Regions from separate parts of the Homo sapiens genome. Here region 2 is linked to region 1. The links are contacts of gene promoters, found by promoter capture Hi-C in blood cells and fetal thymus (Javierre and others, 2016). All regions are on one chromosome and are shown on one strand. The core of a region is centred on a gene start or on the middle of the fragment in contact, and the rest is flanking DNA. Distances in the headings are between cores, read along the strand shown.

Region 1 (2,932 bases), core at 252-2,751:
CATTTGTAACATGTTCTTGCCAATATTGACTTTGTTGGACTTCATCTAATTTAGACCAGAAGAATGATTTATCTATGAGAACACCAAAACTATTATTGAAAATTTTAGAAAGCCCTTGCCCAAATTGACAAATTAAATTAGAAGATAACTTTTCAGATCATGCTTAACTTGAAACTTATCAGAAGCATTACTTTTTTTTTTTTTTTTTGTAACTAGTCAAAGTAACATACCTCCCTGAAATGTGTGACAAATATAATCCCCAAAAGAAATCTCTTTCCATGGTCCGGACCTTCTGATACGTTCTGAAACTTCACAATTCTTCTCATTTTCCCCAGTTAATTGAAGCATTCTGATGCTTCGTCCTTGGAGGTCTTATTTCTTTAGATAAGACTGCTGTTGTCTAGTGTCTTCTGAGTTGTCTAGTGTATTGGAATCACATAAGACTATTTTGAAAGAGAATCCTGGATGCAAATTGAAATGGATACTAGATAAAGAATGATGTAATCCTGGAACCCCTGCAAACACTAAAAATACACGGGGAAATTCTGAACTCTGTTTATGAATAAATACTCCTCTATTAAGTGACAATCCCAGGAGTGACAGGGATATCTGACTCATTTACTTTTGTAGCATCTCACCACAATTAAAGTAAATCATTTCTTGAAAGAAATGGACACTATTCTCTACAAAGCATGAGAATTTAAAATGTTTTGCCCAAATCTTGGCATTTCATGTTAGAATAAACTTTGTTTGGAGTGCTTTGCATGCTACCATATAAAATGGGTTTAGTGAAGAGCTTTTCCTGACAGTGACAAGTGGTTAATCAATTCCAGTTGCAAATGACAGCAAAAAAAATACACATAGCTTGCCACGTTTGCTGCTTTAATTATAATTTATTAGTCATTCTATTTCCTGAGAGAATTTAGTCTGGTTAGAATGCCCTTCATTGTTAAAGTTTGCTTTAAAATATTAAAGAAAATAATTATATACAAGTAATTACTTTGGCTAGTAGAAATGAAGTTTCTCAAAATACTCTTAGTAAGCCACTACCTATTTACTTCTTAAATAACAACTGCTACAAGATCTACGAACTTGCAAAAAATAAAGCTGAAAATCCTCCACAAATTGATGCAGCCAACAGCATTTGCTACTTTAAGTGACAATTTTTCAAACTACCCACTTAAAATCAAAGTATAAATATAATCTGCCTTCCAGAAATACTAGTCATATGAATTATCTAGGAGGGATTTTCTTTAAATATTAGGAACAAATTCATGTACTTTTACCTGAAATTCCACCATAGATCTCTTCTGCTATCCTAGCCGCTTCTTTTCTATTTCCTTTGACGATATAGAAATGGGTTAGGAGAGCCAAAAAAACTTTAATTAAAAGCTTAAAGAAAAAAAACGTAGCAAACATTGTAATAAAAATGTTTTTAAAGCCATAGAAAACAGGACCATCTTCCATTTTGGCTTATGCTCTGTATAGGGTCCTAGGACTGTAAAATTTCACTGAGTTATAATTGGTATCATATGACATCTATTTTAAACCTTCTAGCACTCAGTGCTCCTGTTACCGAGATCTCTGTAGGTTCTAATCTAACTGATTTGGCGACTGCATGTGCTGACTCCACAGCAGTGTTAAATAAACTAAAGAAACTTCCTTCTAACCAGAAACATCCAATAGTTCTAGAACTACATAACTCAGTACTATCTAACAGATAAGATTCATATCCAAACATTTTATATTCCTAAACCCCTATTTTTCCTATTTTATGTTAGAAAGCAGGGTTGGAAAGATAGAAACTTCTTGGCTTCCACAGAAACAAAGCAAGTTATTTGACATACAAAAGAAGTGCAAATATGCTGTATGTTCTAAGTGGGAAATACTACTCCCTGGAGCATTTCATTTTCTCTTAATTCTGAAGTTTATAGAGGATTAAATCCAAATCTAAAATATGACCAGTTAAAAAAGACCATTTACCTGGCCGGGCGCGGTGGTTGACTCCTGTAATCCCAGCACTTTGGGAGGCTGAAGCAGGCGGATCACCTGAGGTCAGGAGTTTGCGACCAGCCTGGCCAACATGGCGAAACCCCCGTCTCTACTAAAAGTACAAAAATTAGCTGGGCGTGGTGGCAGGTGCCTGTAATCCCAGCTACTCAGGAGGCTGAGGCAGGAGAATTGCTTGAACCTGGGAGGCGGAGGTTGCAGTGAGCCGAGATCGCGCCACTGCACTCCAGCCTGGGTGACAAGAGCAAGATTCTGTCTCAAAAAAAAAAAAAAAAAAGACAATTTACCCTAAAGCTGTATGTATGTATGTATGCATGTATGCACGTATGTATGTATTTAGTTTTAAGATGGAGTCTTACTCTGTTGCCCAGGCTGGAGTGCAATGGTGCGATCGCGGCTCACTGCAACCTCTGCCTCCTGGGTTCAAGCGATTCTCCTGCCTCAGCCTCCCAAGAAGCTGGGATTACAGGCATGCGTCACCACGCCTGGATAATTTTCGTATTTTTAGTAGAGACGAGGTTTCGCCATGTTGGCCAGGCTGGTCTCGAACCCCTGACCTCAGGTGATCCACCCACTTTGGCCTCCCAAAGTGCTAGGATTACAGGTGTGAGCCACTGCACCCGGCCAAGCCTGTATTTAATAAAAGGCCTATCTTGGATGCCTCTCCAAGTAAGTGTCACACTAGAAGCATCAGACTACTCGCCATGGTAGTTCCATCTGGGACAAGGTCCCATGGCAAGGTTCCCTCCTGATCATTCACTTGCATTTCAAGCATTGGTAAAGGTGGTGCCCATTTCTGAAAAATGTGGGCTATCCTTGATCATGGAAGAGTCATAGTGAAATGGACAAAAGAGATGCCCTAGGTTCTGGATGAAGTACCCAAATATTTCATGAATCAACCTTCTCTAGTTGGGCAATTTTC
Region 2 (3,284 bases), core at 713-3,212, 360 kb after region 1:
GCCTTGTTGCTCTGAGGGGCGTAACAAAGATGGTGGAGCAGGCGGAGGGCAGAGGCGTCGGCAAGTTAGCGTGCAGGCGCGTGGCAGCGACAGGAGATGTGTAGCCAGAGCGCAGAGCAGGTGTGGACTCCGGCGCTGGGGAAGCGTGGCCAGGGCGAGATTTCAGCCTGGGTCGGGGACAGAATGGGGACTGATAGGGGCGTAACCTGGAATGACGAAATGACGTTTGCTGCGTAGGGACGTGGCTAAACGTGAGGGGGCGTGGCCAAGATGGCCGCGTGCGGGATCCTCGGGTACCGGGAGCGAACGAGGAGGTTCTGGCTCAGGTAAGTCGTTCGGGTAAGGGCGGGCGGCAGTAAGGAGCGTGGGCAGCAGCAGGGCGTGGTCTGCTTGAGAGGGCAGGAACTGTGCCACTTGCCGCAAACATGACCGCGTGCCGCTATCGGCCCTGGAGCCAGAGAAGCTTTTGGTGCGGCGAGGTTGGCCGGGGCCCTGGCGGGGCTTCTCTGAGGAATGGGAGTGGGAGGCTGGCGGCGGGGAAATAGCCACTTCCCCACTCTAGCCCTCTTTCTCCGCTATGGGGATCACCAGACATCCTTTTAGGATTCTGTCTATTAAAAAGTAGAACAGCTTTCCCAGAGACATTGCGGGATGAGAGGAGTGTCCAGAAACCAAGGAGCAGCAAGCTGGGACTCCCTCGGGTCTGCATTGTTGATATTCCCACCTGACTATGCTAGGGGCTATGGACAGACACAGCCACCCCAGAGTAGATCAAAAGCACAGTTGTGTCCCTTGGACAAATCTGAGTTTTTCTGTTGTGCCTTGCCCCAGAGCCGGAGGAGAGGAACCTCCAAAATGCAGACATTCTTGGTGGCTGGGATTCTGTGTGATATTCAGCGTTAAATGCTGCTGCTCTGAGGCTGCTGGAAACGCGTTAGTATTAATATCTGTGTACTTCTCTCACATTTACTTTTGCTGGAAAAGCTTGGGAAATGACTTAACGAAGATGCGTAAACCTTAATTTGTTTATATGCTCCTTATTAGCCACTGAATACCACATTGCTTTCTGCTTCCCCTTCTTCTTTACTGATAATCTGACCATTTCCACTATGCACTTTGAAAGTCTTGCTGGAGTATGGAGAATAGTCAGAAATCTCTGGTAAGATGCTGCCCCGCGCATCTCTCAGAGGAGTCACTATTCATAGCCTGCATCAGAGTTCACAATGAACCAAAGTTCACCCCACCTCCCCTGTCTTCAGGGACTTAGTGAAAAGCTGCACTGTTCTTGAATATTTTGGAAATGAAAAACTTTCTGGGCTATTTTAAATCAGTACCTGGGCTGGAATTAACCGAAAGGCGAAACAGCAAGGGCACCATTCTCTGTGCCTATACGTAGCTGCCCTGTGCTTGGAACCAAGCAAAAAGGCTGCCACTGCTCACAGTTGCAATGGAATAAAGGTTGAGTGCCTTGTGATTGCATATGAATATTAAGGAAATCTGATGGAAAGAGGGAAATTCATCATGTCACTGGCCACACTGGGGCAGTTAGTTGCAACACACAAATCAGGTATAATATATTTTGAAACCTTTGGCAACCTCAGATTGGGATCACACTCTCAAGGAAGAAGTGAGTGAGAGGAGGAAGCTAAGCTTTCTTAAGACATAGCAGCGTAATCTCTAATTTAAGTTTCAGGAAATTGCAAAAGGCAGGCTTCCTTTTGAAATCAGGAGTTGAGAAAATGAAGAGTCAATCTGATGCCAATCAAGGAATTTTTCAATATAATTGTAACCTTTTGTTAGTACTTTTCCTGTCTCTTTCGCATAAGTTGCTTAATCAGGCAGAGTTCAAGCTATGAGGCATTTAATAAATACATTACTTATGAATGACATTTAAAGACTTTTAGAATCTTTTCTTTTTTCACACATTTCTAAGGCTGCAAAACAACAGAAAAAGAACATGTTAGTAATATCCAAGGCATACATGAATAATCAGTGACAGCAAAGGATGTGTAGCACAGAAGGCTTAGCTCTCCTAGGCGGTATCCAGCCACACACTGGTAATTGTTGAAATGGAGTATTGGATATATAGATGATTTATTCTCACCATTTTTTTGTACAAGTTTGAAGTTTGCCCTAATAAGGGGAAAACAGATTCTAAATTCAGTTGACCCATGGACTATTGCTGTTTAAACCTGCTAAGTGAATTCAGATAGTGAAGTTATTTAAAAACCAGATGCTCTTACCTGGCTGCAGGAACTATCAAGATAAGATATTGAAAGCTTATTGGCAGTCTGTCTTTTAAATCCTGAGCCAGACTTTTTTACATGGCTTCAACAAGGTGATTTTTCATCTCCTTAGACATTTTGACATACACACTCCCACTAAAAACTGTATTTACACAAACACAGATAAAACTAAACAAAAGTGATTTTAACTTTGGTTTGAGAATTGTCAGCACCTTTTAGGCAACGCAGACATACTTTAGGTGTCACTGGCTGTTACGAGTTCAATTGCACCCTCCCATCTCAAACTCATATACGTTTAAGTCTTAAGCCCCAGTACCTCAGAATGTGACCTCATATGGAGATTGGGTCTGTATAAAGGTAATTATGGTCATTAGGGTGACCACTAGTCCAATATAACTGGTGTCCTTAATTAAAAGGGAAATTTGGACACAGACAAGATGAGAATGGCTTACGAAAATTGGATTTAATGCTGACACAAGCCAAGGAATTACCAGAAGCAAGGTTTATTAGGTGTTCTCCAGAGAAACAAAACCAATTGTGTGTGTGTATGTGTATATATGTGTGTGTGTATGTATGTATGTGTGGGTGTGCCTGTGTGTGTGCTTGTGCGTGTGTGTGTGTGTGTGTGTTTAGAGAGAGATTTATTTTTAAAAATTGGCTCGTGAATGTAGGCTCGTGAAATTTGCAGTGCAGGCCAGCAGACTGGAGACCAGGGAAGAATTGATATTACAGCCTGTCTTACTCAGTTTTGTGCTGTAACAGAATACCTGACACTGGATAATTTATAATGAACAGAAATTTATGTGGCTCATGATTCTGGAGGCTGGGAAGTCCAAGGGCATGGTGCCAGCATCTGCTCAGCATCTAGTGAGGGCTCTCTCTTGCATCATCCCATAGCACAAGGCAGAAGGGCAAGAACATGTGCATGTGAGGGGTGGGAGTGGTTGGGGGTGAAGAAGGAGGGAGGGAGGGAAGGGAAAGAAGCCAAATTTATCCTTATATCAGGAACCCACTACCTCAGAAACTAACCAGCTCCCC

The links. The method cuts DNA at HindIII sites, captures the fragments that hold promoters and counts their contacts. A CHiCAGO score of 5 or more calls a contact.
Region 2: a contact is called between a fragment that was not itself captured here and the fragment with the promoter of ASB11 in region 1, in 1 of 17 cell types (M0 macrophages). The highest score is 6.0, in M0 macrophages.

What each region holds. Positions count from the first base shown.
Region 1 is chrX:15,314,139-15,317,070 of GRCh38, forward strand. It overlaps ASB11 (ankyrin repeat and SOCS box containing 11), which reads right to left and starts at 1,502. Exons shown (of 7, transcript NM_080873.3): 1 at 1,287-1,502. The coding sequence starts at 1,467. The HindIII fragment of the contact is 9,481 bases long and covers 1,391-2,932 here.
Region 2 is chrX:15,675,453-15,678,736 of GRCh38, forward strand. It overlaps CA5BP1-CA5B (CA5BP1-CA5B readthrough), which reads left to right and starts at 6. Exons shown (of 12, transcript NR_160544.1): 1 at 6-326. It also overlaps a transcript of CLTRN not described here and the pseudogene CA5BP1. RefSeq lists enhancers at 1-289, 1-81. The HindIII fragment of the contact is 629 bases long and covers 1,649-2,277 here.